Regions from separate parts of the Homo sapiens genome. Here region 2 is linked to region 1. Evidence: promoter capture Hi-C in 16 types of primary human blood cells and fetal thymus (Javierre and others, 2016). All regions are on one chromosome and are shown on one strand. The core of a region is centred on a gene start or on the middle of the fragment in contact, and the rest is flanking DNA. Distances in the headings are between cores, read along the strand shown.

What was found. The method cuts DNA at HindIII sites, captures the fragments that hold promoters and counts their contacts. A CHiCAGO score of 5 or more calls a contact.
Region 2: a fragment that was not itself captured here is called in contact with the fragment with the promoter of BBIP1 in region 1 in 1 of 17 cell types (neutrophils); the score reaches 5.4 in neutrophils.

The regions. Positions count from the first base shown.
Region 1 is chr10:110,914,919-110,921,843 of GRCh38, reverse strand. BBIP1 (BBSome interacting protein 1) reads left to right here and starts at 2,664. Exons shown (of 4, transcript NM_001195305.3): 1 at 2,664-2,723; 2 at 3,631-3,723. The coding sequence starts at 3,687. It overlaps SHOC2 (SHOC2 leucine rich repeat scaffold protein), which reads right to left and starts at 2,240. Exons shown (of 9, transcript NM_007373.4): 1 at 2,187-2,240. RefSeq lists silencers at 1,781-1,870, 1,881-2,320, 3,171-3,330 and enhancers at 2,541-2,590, 2,611-2,810, 2,500-3,039. The HindIII fragment of the contact is 2,602 bases long and covers 901-3,502 here.
Region 2 is chr10:110,079,133-110,085,243 of GRCh38, reverse strand. The region is part of intron 1 of ADD3 (adducin 3); the gene reads right to left. Among named protein-coding and RNA genes, the nearest start is that of ADD3-AS1, 74 kb to the right of the region's middle. The HindIII fragment of the contact is 3,598 bases long and covers 1,041-4,638 here.

The sequences.
Region 1 (6,925 bases), core at 1,415-3,914:
TTAATGTAGCTGTTTCCTCAAAAACTGAAGGGGGAATGTGGGGATGGTTAATGGATATAAAAAAACAGAATGAATACGATCCAGTATTTCATAGCACAACAGGGTGACCATACTCAATAAATTTAATTGCACATTTTAAAATAACTAAGAGTATAATTGGATATTTGTATCACAAAGGGTAGATGCTTGAGATGATGGGATACCTCATTTACTCTAATGTGACTATTATGCATTGTATGCCTGTATCAATATCTCATATAACCCATAAAAACCTACTATGTACCCATAACAATTAAAAACTAAAAATAAAACTGAACAAGCACCTTGGGAAAATGCAGTACCCTTAAAGACATGTCCATAATTTGAAACTGGGATTTCAATATTGTTTTATATGTTGGCTTTATATTAAATTTCAGACATTTGAAAGTTACAAACCTTAGACAAAACTTTTATTCAGTTTTGTGTTTATTTTTGTCTATTTTTCAAATGTGTATTTATAATTACATAAAAAGTTTACAATATACTTTATGTCCAAATAAAGACAAAAGGCTTATCATACTCAGTCTAAGTTCCATATGTGGCGAATGGTCATTTGCATACTTTATTCCTAAAATTCTTTTCACTGTCACACAGCAAAACATCAACACTTGATAAATTCAAATTATAAATATAACCTTACTGAATGTTACAAATTGGATGCAATAGCTAAGTCTCTTCAAGTACACAGTAACAGTTCTACAGTCCACAGCATGGAGGATGAGGGTAAAGATTAGTAAGTACACTAATAAATTGAGGTCTTTAAAATTAAAACTATTTTTCAGTGGTGTTGCTGCATTTAGTTACAAAAACACTTGGTTACACAAATGTACCTTAGGATTCTGAAAACCGTAACAAAAAGCTTTTGATATAGTAGTCCCTCTTGAGTAGAAACTAGACGCACTCGGTATCTAAGAAAAGTATACGAAATGGCACAGGTGTAAGCCTAGACACTGCTGGTAGTTATCACGCTGGAGGCAAATACTATACAGTCCACATCTGCAACCTAATTTTGCTTCAGCATCCCCAGAGACTTCGAAAATATTTCTTTGGGTAGGTTGCAAAACAGTGCTTCCTCTTTTATTCTCATCACCCCCATTACGATACAAAGCAACAGACAAGAAAAATCAAACTGCCAACTGTAAGGGCTTAAACACACACACAAAGCATCTTCTTTCTAGCTCCCGAATCGGTATTTATTCCACCTGTTTGTAAATCCATAATTCCACAATAACACAAACTGCCTGCTTAAAGAAAGGAAGGAAGAAAAGAAAAAGAAAGAAAAGAAATAAAGAGAAAGGCAAGTTAATGCTTTGGAGTCATTACTCTTCCACCTAGGCATGGGGGGAGGGGGATGGTACAAAAACAATGGATATTGAGGTGCTGGGGGAAAAATCGTCTTGCCCCAAAGCCTCTTGTGTTATGAGCCTGGGGAAGTCGGGGAAGAGTGAGACTACTTTTCCTCTCTCCCTAAAAGCTGTGCTATCACGGGGAGAGGTTGCCATCGGGCATGTTCTACGAGGCGGTCTCGAAGGGCTACAACTCGCTTCGCTAGGCAACACACCCAGAGCCGATCCAGCACTCTTCACTCAAGGGTTTTTAGGGAGAGGAGAACGGGAGAGCAAGGTGGACTCCAGGGAGGGGGCGAGAAGAGACCCCACCCTGTATGACCGCCGCTGCGCCCGGGCCCTCGCCAACGATTTACACGACTCGGGGCGCCCTGCGGACTGGGCCCGGGGGCCCAGGGAGCCGAGAGGAGAGAGACTGTCCGCCGGGGGCCCCCGGCCCGCGCCCTCGCGCCGGCTCGCCGTCGCCCAGGCGCTGTCCGGGCCGCCCGCCGCCGCCGCCGCAGGCCCGGCCCCGGCCGCTGTCACACCCGACCGCCTTCCTCTCCGCGCCGGGCTGCAGGCTCCCACGCGAGCCGGCTCCAAGGGCCCCGCACTCCCGGAGACAGCAACCAGGAAAGCGGCGGCGGCGGCGCCTCCCAGGGCCCCGGCCCCTCGGGCCTCGCCCCGGCGCTGCCGGCTCGCGCCTGTCAGGGCGCACGGGGCCTCCCCCTACCGACAGCCAGCCCGACTGCCCGACGGACAGGAAGGCAGGCAGGAAGAACCGACCAACAGACACCCTCCGCCTCATCGGCCCCGAGTTACCGTCAGGAGCCCCGACTCCGCCATCCTCCTCGCTCGCCCTCCTTCCTCCTCTTCCTCCTCCTCCTAAGAAGCGACGCTGCCCAACCGCCGCCCCCCGCCCGCCCCTCCCCCACTCGCCCCGCCCCGCCCGCCCCGCCACTACTCTCGCTCCAGCCTCCCCGCCCCACCCCTCTGCCGTGGGCCCGTCACTCGCTAGGCAAGAAAAATGGGCGGAACCGGGGCAAGAGAAGCTGCCCAATCAGAGACGGGCAGTGCCGCCAGCTTCTCTCTCTCCGCCCTTGTCCTTTCCTCAGTTCCTCTACGCCGTCTCCCGCCCACTGGGCGCCTCTGGCTAGCCGGGCTACAGAGTAAGCCTCCAGCAGGGTAGAGTGACAACTCCCCGATCGGAAGTTACTGTTGAAGCTAAGGCGGCCATAACTGATAATGGCAAAAGGAGATTCCTGGCTTCCTGTTTCCAGGGTGACGTAGATTTTTTTCCTTCGCCAGTCTCACCGTTACCCGGGGCAACAGCTGAGCCGTCTGGGAAGGGATGCATCTGTAAGTAAGCCCAAAGAGGTACCGTGGGTGACCACACATCCCATGTTAGACAAGTTAATTCATACTCCGGATTACACGTCCAGTTTCCTGGCCCTTATTTTACTGAGACGTCTGGTCACTTACGGAGATGGACAACAGTTTAGGGCTCCGAAATTCCCTCTCCTGCCCGGAAGTTGCATTTGGCACTTCCGAATTGGGTCATGGCGGAAGGGTGTTAATAGCCTGGCCGCCCGTGCCCCAGGGAATGCTTATTTTTGACCTTAGTTGCAAAGTGAGGTGAGTCCGTGGACCCCAACCAGTGGGCCGGACCCGGGCCGGACGGTCCCTGTGGGACAGAGCGCTGAAATGGCGAGCGGGGCTCAGGGCCGCTTCCGTTGGAAGGCGGTTTTTTTCCGGGCTGGCCTGGCGGCGGCCCGCCCCCGTGAGGCTCCCTGTGGGGTGAGGCCGCTCTACAGGCCGCCCTAACCCAGCCAGAGGCAGCCCGGCCGGGAGGACCCCAGCGGGGAATGGGCGGGGACCTCGGGGCGGAGCTCCTAACTCCGGCAAAACGGAGCTCTTGACCACGCCTCCGCAAGTTCCTATTAAGTACTTTCACTCCTTGGCCTTTGGAGGGAGGAGAATTCGGGAACTTCAGAAAATCATTTTCCACCTTCACCTATAAAAGGAAAAGATGAGCCCCTACCACCAGGGCAGGACCTCAATCTTTTTCCCCTGCCACCTGCCTTCCCATTCTGATTTTTCCCCCCTTTCCGCGTCTCTCCTTTGAGTCTTTGTAAGCTTTGACTGCGGTTCTGGTGGTGGGATTCCTGCAGGTCTACAGTTTCTTAAACAACGTGTTGAAGATTTTTGAAAATACTGTATTGCTTTTATATGGCCCTTTACAAAGTTATCATACATTATCTTGTAGTTTCTTCTGTATGCTTGAGTCAAGAACTCTAAGTCATCTTGGTAATACCGGGTTGGATGCTTAAAGCTGCAGCAAAAAGACCAGAACTTTCAGGTAAAATTGAAAATGGTTAATATCCAGCCAGTCAACAATACAGATGCAAACCTACCTTCTCGACTTAATTTCTGCTTCCTTAGTACTTACACGCCAGCCAAAATGAACTACTCTTGTTTCTTTGCTGTTAATTACTGAAATCTGTTGTAGCAGTCACCTTTTGTGATTCTGTATCTGATTCTGTTACCCGTGGAGATGTGTTTCCAGATTCTTCCCAGCAGGAAGTAATTTCCTCTGAGTTTAGCATTTTTTGTACATCTTTTATGACAATCAGTATGTTATATATATATAATAGCGCTTATGTTTTTAGCTTCACTACCATGTCTGCACCTAAATAGAATGGTTTGTATCAGATTCGTCTTCCCGTCATTTTCACCATGCACATGATATTATTTTGGTAAATACTTACTGAAAGTTTGAATATATCGGGTGTCTCTTGGATGCCCAAGACACTTCCAGCCAAGTTTTAGAGACCTTCAATTTATCAGAAATTCAGCTGAGCGCCTGCTACTCAATCTTTGTTTTACGTTTCCCCTGTGAAGTCTTTCTGACATGATTTTTTTCCCCAGTGTTTTATTATGAAAGTGTTCATATATTTAAAAGCTGAAAGAAATAATTTAATGAATATTCATGTACCCATCATCTATATGCAGCAGTTAACATTTTGCCATTTTTTTTCATTCCTCCCCACTTTTTCATTGTCATAAAAAGTTGCAGACACTTATTGTTAGGCAAGACACCCTTAAGATTTCCAGCATGAATTTCCTAAGAATTTTGAAGTTCTCCAGCAAAACACAATATCATTATTTCAGCTGTTTTGTAACTTTTAAAATCTAGGCCAAGTGCTAATTTTCCTAATTTACCCAGGAATATCTTTTATACCTTCTCCTTCCCAATCCTGCAAAAAAAAAAAAAAAAAAAAAAAATCAGGATCCAGTCAAAATTTTTCTTTAGCTTTAATGTAGTAGAGTTCCCCCATCTTTTTTCCCCCTGTGACATTGGCATTTTGAAGAGTTCAAGGCAGGAGTCTTTTTGGAAATGGGCCCCTCTTTTTTCTTCTTGTAAACCAGAAGTTAGTCTAGAGGCTTAAGCTGAACATTTTTTTTGCAAGGATATGTCACAGTATTCACACTTTTCTAGTCATGACTAAGCCTTCTCAAACGCAGCTATACGCACTTTGCCGTGAGTTGCTGGTTAAATCCATCTCACTTCTTAGCATGCTTACCCCTCTCCAGTGTCCTACAAAGAAGAGGGTAGCATTTAATCCTGTGTGTATAGAGTATGTGTTAGTGCCTTGGGTTGGCAACATTGACTACCTTTAATAAAGTGTTGCTGCTACTTTGCCTATTCTTGGAGCTGATGCAATGACTTTCTGCAGTAAAGTGTACTGATGTCAGCATAGTTTATGAGTGTCAACTCCTGGCACCCTGCAGACATTGTTGAAAGATGTGTGGGCCCTGCAATTCAAATACAGATGAATCTTGATGTTATCAAAGCAAATACCAAGGCAACTGTTGGCCATCTGGTCACATTCCAATTTAGGCAATGTTATTTTTCTCACTGAAATTCTCATGCAAGTCTTAATTGGTCCTGGTGTTTTTATGATAGCTTTTTGGTAGCATTAAGCAGAGCCTATTAAAAATTGCAAAATCAAGATTATACTTAACACTTAGTACACTAGATACGTTCTCTGCCCAATGGATAGAGAAGTGTTTGTGGAATTTACTTCCTAATCACAAAGGGAAAACTCAAGACTGCCAACGTCGTATACTCCTCCTAGCCTAGACTTATATTTGATCATGAAAGATAAGTGAAAGGAAAAAACTGCACATAAGGGAGCAGAAGAAAATGCTCTGGGAGGACAGAATTTTTTAGATTGGTATAGAATGTTTTTAGCCATCATATTGAAAATTACATAGTGCATTCTGTTAGTTGCTTCCTTTGTGTAGAAGGGAATTTGCTTGTGTGGAAATAATCCAGATTTAAGTAAGGCAAAATAATATACCAATTAAGATCACAGGTTTTAGCATCAGACCTGGGTTTCAGGAATAAGACTATTCAATAACTGGATGACCTTGGACAGCCTACTCACTCTATTAATAATCTATTAAACAGTGCCTTGCCAGGTGTGGCTCACACCTATAATCCCAGCACTTTGGGAGGCCGAGGCAGGTGTATCACTTGAAGTCTGGAGTTTGAGATCAGCCTGGCCAACATGGCAAAACCCCATCTCTACCAAAAATGCAGAAATTGGCCAGGTTTGGTCATGCACACCTGTAGTCCCAGCTACTCAAGAGGCTGAGGCACCAGAATCACTTGAGCCTGGGAGACAGAGGTTGCAGTGAGCTGAGATTGCAGCACTGCACTCCAGACTGGGCAACAGAGCGAGACCCTGTCTCAAAAAAGAAAAAAAAAATTAAAACGAGCCTTAAAACTGTTAAGGATTGTGTTACAGAATTAATTCAAATATATATAAAGTGCTTTACCTCGGTTTATAGCACATGGAGTGCAGTCAGTTTATGGTAGTTAATAACTTCTAAAGCAATCCAGTTAGGGGACGTATTGAATTCAGGCACATATTGACATTGATTATTTAGTGAGTGAAGGAATGAATCTATGACAGTAGTTCTCTTAAGTTTAATGTGGGGGACTTAATTAAAAGTTAGGGTCCGGCTGCTGTGGCTCATGCCTGTAATCCTAACAATTTGGGAGGCTTGGGTGGGCAGATCACTTGAGCCCAGGAGTTTGAGACCAGCCTGGGCAATACGGCAAAACCCTGTCTCAAAAAATAAAAATATTAGCTGGGTGGGGTAGCATGTTCCTGTAGTCGCAGCTACCTGGGAGGCTAAGGTTGGAAGATCACTTGAGCCCAGAAGGTCAAGGCTGTGGTGAGCCATGATCGCACGACTGCACTCTAGCCTGAGCAACAGAGCGAGACCCTGTCTTAAAAAAACAAAAAAAGAAAAAGTATTCTGATTCAGCAATTCTGATTTCTGAAGAACTCCAGAAAAATCTGTATTTTTAATAATTGTACAGGGAGTTTTGATGCGATGATTTGGGGACTGGGCTTTAAGCAGCACTCTGTAAAGTATCAAACAACTTTTCTCTTTCCTTGCACACTGTTGAAATAGCTAACTAAATATCTCAGGTGCTGAGCAAATACTTTTTTTAAAAGGTTAATAGCTAACATTTTTAGGACCAC
Region 2 (6,111 bases), core at 1,590-4,089, 840 kb after region 1:
AACTGCCATGCAAGCTTGTGGGTGCATTTAAAGAGGTCTAGGCTCTTTCCTGATAAAACAGGATTTAGCTTTGAAAAGTAGGCCTAGTTGATATGAACAAGAATTCTAAAAATGTATGTATACATTGATATTTTATGACACCAAACTAATTCATATCAAAAAATGGGGGGGAATTAAAATTATTTCTAACATGAAGAAACTGGAAATAATGAGAAGATAAAGAGACAACAACCCAAGTCTCCAGTCCACTGCTGGAAACTGAACTCTCAATAAAAAGTGAGAAAATCTGGAAAAAGACCTGAGAAGTCTAATATCAAATTCAGGAAAAAGAGAAAACATTAAACTAATTAACTATTTAATTTATGGAGGAAAGTTTATCAAAAACAACAGAAATGCAGACTTTAAAACAACAAAGAATAACTTTCATACGTTTGTTAGGATTGTAGAGAAACAACATTGCTTTGTAAATATAAATAAGAACTCTTCCAACAAGAGGAGTTGTTTTCCCTGATATTACCTAATGAGAGCCAAAAGAGGAATACTATCCTTAGAATTTAAAGATGTTAGAGCTTAAAAGGATGTAAGATATTATCAAATCTTATTCTACCTCATTTCTCATATGGAGAAAGGTAGAACAGATCCTGAGAGAGAGAGTGACGTGTCCCAAGTCCCTCAATTTATCTTACCCAATACTTTTCACTTTATCTACATTAGAATGAGATACATAAGACTGTAGACCATATGATCTGTTCATATAAGAAAAATTTAAAACATGAACTGCACTTAGAAATTTATTTAACTAAAGATTTTGGTAAGCACAATTTTAAGCACATTTCAGGTGCTACTGTACATTAAATAAACTGTTAACTTTTATCTCTAAAAAGCCAGGTAATGCCTCATGTTACAATTTCTTGATTTTAAAGGGTTTCTAGGTATGTGCTCATGATTAATATACAAAACATTTTGTTGGTGTTATTTCCATAAGAATCTAAAACAATTTTTACTATTTTAAAATAATGAGAGTGCTTTTCTTTCAAGCTTTCATGGTAATTCACCAGGAAGAGTAAACTTCATGACTCAGCTTTTTGTGCCCACTCACACATGCCTAAAAGGTCCACTGAAATTGCTTGCTATATTTTAAATTCCAGCTTGAAGTAGGACTCTTGTTTTTCTGAGGCTCACAAAGACTAGACTCACAGCTTAGTTCTATAGTGTCTATTTAGCTGTACTTAAAGCCTACATCAAGTACTTTATTGTCAAATAAAAAGCTATCTATGAGGAGCTTAGTAACTTAAGTAGCTCTCCAGAGTTTGGTAAATATTTTGTGTCTACTTTTGATCTCTATTGTCTAGGAAAGGTTCTGTCAAGTTGTAAAGTGCTAGAAAGTGTTATTTTAAACCTTTAAAAGGTAGTAAGAGTACTACAACCCTGGGATCCTTGGTTGCAACAAAGAAGCACAAAGCCAACTACTATAGTTTTCCAAAAACACCATTTCCTCAGTCCCTGCCCCAAGGAAATAAAAAAGCATCCAGGAAGTCCCATCTTTAAAAAATACTTAGCTATCAGCCTGGGGCTTCTAAAATTCAGGCCCTGAAAAAACGATAGGAAAGACTTCAAAGTCCATCCCTATTAATTAGGTTTAGAGGGAAATGACTCTTCCTAAAAAAAAGCCATCCCCGATTGTTGCTTTGCTCACCATACTTCTTCTTCTATTTTCTTTTTTTTTTTGAGACGGAGTCTTGCTCTGTCACCCAGGCTGGAGTGCAGTGGCGCGATCTCGGCTCACTGCAAGCCCCGCCTCCCAGGTTCACTCCATTCTCCTGCCTCAGCCTCCCGAGTAGCTGGGACTAGAGGCGCCAGCCACTATGCCCGGCTAATTTTTTGTATTTTTAGTAGAGACGGGGTTTCACCGTGTTAGCCAGGATGCTCACCATATCTCATACATTTGGACTGTTTTCCCCTCTCATCTCCATCCGTCCATCCAATATTTGTCCATACTTTGAATTCTTATTCAAAAGCCAACCCCTTCCATGGTGACTTTCCTAAGTTCCTCCATCTTAGCTCTCCCCGCAACCTTAGTGTTCAAATCACTTTGTCATAGTCTGTATTGCCTTTTAATTATCTGAGTATGTCTGTTGGCTCCAAGTAACTGGGTCAACATTTTTTCCTTTCTTTACTGTCCACTTAGAGTTACTCAATAAGGGTTTATTAACTCACTGAGGTGAGTAAGGCTCTTGACTCATAATACCCCCATTCTCTACTTGTCTTAGAATAAACCAGGACAGGGATTCTAGAGCAAACTCTGAAAACTGGGCTATTCGTGGTTTGATAAGACTGGCCAAGTATCCAAGATGGTTGAGGTAATGAATATTGTGACCTGAATATGAAATGTCTTAAGCTGACTGAAAAGTAATTACACAAAAAAAGTGTGAAGATATGAGAAGAGCATTATCGGTATCTGGAAATACTTAAAATAAGTAAATACATACATAAAAAGAGCAATTTCTAAAAATCTATATTTACCGCCATGTTTTGAGACCACGTACAAATAATGATACAAAAATGTTATCTTCAAACACCAAAGAAACTACTGATCCAATCAATCAGCAAATGCTAATTCAGGTGTTAGAAAAAGGTTATAAAGACTATTTAAGGCACAGCTCTGATTCCTGCCCTTAAGGACTTTCCAGTTTATTAATAATTGTGGAGAGAAGTAAACCGAATAAGCTATCTCGTAAGACAGTTTAATGTTTTACAGAACTTGAATTCATGGCTTCCAAAACTCAAAATAGGTCTTTAAATGGACATTTTTCATACCCAAAAGGTATGTTTAAAATAATTCATTCTCATCTAAGGACAGGAAGTGTGTAGAGTAAGCTAAGCCTGCAAAAGGTCATAACCACTATTAAAGCATTTTTTTTCTGATCTTTTTAACTGTCATGACTTTTATGCCCAACAGTTACTGATGGTCAAATGTATTCTGAAGCTCAGCCAAAGTTTTTTTTTAGAGTGATACTCAAAACAAAGCAAATATTGGCTTAGTCATGACACTTGTTGTTCTAAAACGTTAATAGCCTATTGTTCACTGTGGTTGTCTCAGCAAGATAATACATTGAAAAACAGCATTTCCTGATAGGAAGTGAATTCCCACTGTGTGTCACAGGACCCTAGCCAAATGCTGGGCTCCAAAGCAGAAACAGCAGTGCCTTCTGGGACTGCGTAACAGACCAGGGTAATGAGACTTCCCCTTCTCTCGTTTAAAATGTCTGTTTCAGCTCAAACTACAATCTATTTGACTGATTTTGCCACCATAGGACTGTTTTCCTAAAATGGCTTCAAATGCTTCAAAGTTTGTTCAACATCCTGTAGACAGCAGCATCCTGTATATTTCTAACTATGAAGAATTTCCTTAGTTATACATGCCACAATGGATGGGGTAATTTGACAAAGAAGCCATCAGGATGTATCTTCAAAACAGAGGGTGACCATTTTCAAGCGTGGTTTCATATAAGCAATTGTTAAAAAATCATAATAGGTGAAGCACAATAATTCCAACAGTTTTTTATACATCAGATACGTTTTAGTAGACAAAAATTTAGCCTCAATTAATTAGTCCAAGCACCACAGCATTACTTAGAGTTCAATTAGTGAGAAACTGGTGTCACCAGCAGAGCCTCATACAGAAGAGTGTGCCTCCAAAGTAACTGACACTGTACTAAGACATTAAGACCTTCTTTTTAAACACTGAAAACATACTTTTCATCTATTTTCACAGATTCGAATTTAAATATATATATATTTTTTGCCAAGTTCCAATCACCAGTGGATATTAGAAAGCTCCAACAACGCAAGGAACAGGAGCAGTTGTCATTTTAGAGGATTCTAAGCAAGACTGTCTCAGTTACCTAGGTACTCCTAGCATTTAACTCAGTGCTTGGCTGCTAGAAGGTCTTCGATACATTTTGCTAAGTGGAATTGTATGTCAAAAAATGCGTATGAAAATTAACAAGGAACACTAATAATTATCTAGCATTATTTGAATAATAATAATATCTCAGATTATAGAAAAGTATATTCAAGGTATATTAAGCCTTCTGCAAAGAAACTAAGGTAACCACCACACAAACATACAAACTCTCTCTCCTACCTTATTGGCCAAGAAAATGTCTTTTATCTTCCAGTTGTAATTACACAAATCAATTGAAGTCCTTACATCATTTTATCTTTAGAACAGCTGTCATTTGATTGAATTATGAAACTAAAACTGTGAAACAGGTAATGCTACCCAATGCTAAATATCCTATGTGTGATACAGCAAAAATACTGCTTTTGTTACTTTATAACTTTGCCATGTAACTTTGTAACTTTGCTGGCAGGATATAGTTCACCTCTAAAGCAGCTTCCTCAGCATCAAATCTGAAAACTTTAATTATGTTAAGTAATGTCAGTTTTAGCATTTAACGAAACAAGGAGATGGATTAAAGGGCTAGAATGTGCAAACAGTTTAAACAAGAAACCTGAAGCCAAGTTTCAAAGCCCTAGGATTACTTCTGAATGGTCGGACTCACTGAAAAATTATAAGGATCCATTTTAAAAACAAACATAACTTCACAATCTTCCTCCTCAAATATTCAAGCTTGATAAAAAGGATTTGCTTTTAATTCTGGAATGGGTTTTATACTTTTGAAATTGACTTTTGAGAAAAGGATAGTTTATGTAAAATATAGAATGATATTCAACTTTCCTTTTTTACATTCTTAAACTTTAAAATAGCTTAGGCCACATGGAAGGTCAAATAAATTACAGACCACACAATATATACAATAGATGTTTTTAATTTAAATATGAGAAACTTCATATAATTTGGGTTATCCAGTTTAAATCAATATTCCAACAAAAATACTACATAAATATTGAAGTTGGGTGGGACATTAAAACTCATCTATTTCAATCTCTTATTTTATAGATGGTAAAACTGAGGATTCAAGGAGGTCAGGTGACCCACCCCAATACCACACCCAAGTTACCCGACTTTGAACCCAATGTTCTTTCACTGCTCTGAGGAGAAATGACTTCCTCCTGGGGCAGTTCTTACCCACCCCGACCCATGAATGCCTGGGATAGTGCGGCCTAGTTTTGGAGCCCTAGTCTGATACATAGAAGTTGGTAAGGGAATTTTCTATTTCCACACAGCACTATTATACCTTCCCTATAGTACCCCAGTTCTGGGTTCTATCCCAAAACGGAGGTAGGAGAAGACTGATAGCATAAGTACGTCTGATGGAGAGGGGATGGGAACTAACTTGGAAATGATCCAAATATCCATCAAAGGAGGAATAACTGAGTTACAGTACATCCATCCACACAATAAAGTACTATAAAGCCATTAAAAAGAATGAAGTAGGCTGGGTGCAGTGGCTCACGCCTGCAATCCCAGCACTTTGGGAGGCTGAGGCAGGTGGATCACTTGAGGTCAGGAGTTTGAGACCAGCCCGGCCAACATGGTGAAACCCCATCTCTACTAAAAATACAAAAATTAGCCGAGCTGTTATCCCAGCTACTCGGGAGGCTAAGGCAGGAGAATCGCTTGAACCTGGAAGGCAGAGGTTGCAGTGAGCCAAGATCGCGCCACTATACTCCAACCTAGGTGACAGAGTAAGACTCTGTCTCAAAAAAAAAAGGAAAAGAGTAGATACATAATGGTATAATTTTATATGTATTAAAAAGATGTTCAGGTAGATCACACACACACACACACACACACACACACACACACACACACTCTCTCTCTCTCTCTCTCTCTCTCTCTCTCTCTCATCATTTTTTTGAAAAATAAATTCCCTTCTGGGGAGTGGGGCTGAGGGATTAGGGTGGGAAAAACATTTTGTCACATGCCCTTTTATATTATTTCATCTTTTTACCATATGCATTTTTTAGTAAAATTACCTTTTAAAAGTACGTTAAAGCAGAGAAAGGAAATTCCACGGAGCTCTGGGAGACAACTCTGGTGATGAAGATAAAGAAAGGGTTTATCAATGGTAATCTGACACTCTATATCTAATGTACATGACACATTATATCTAGTTCTCTAGAAAAGCCTTCTCAATGCTT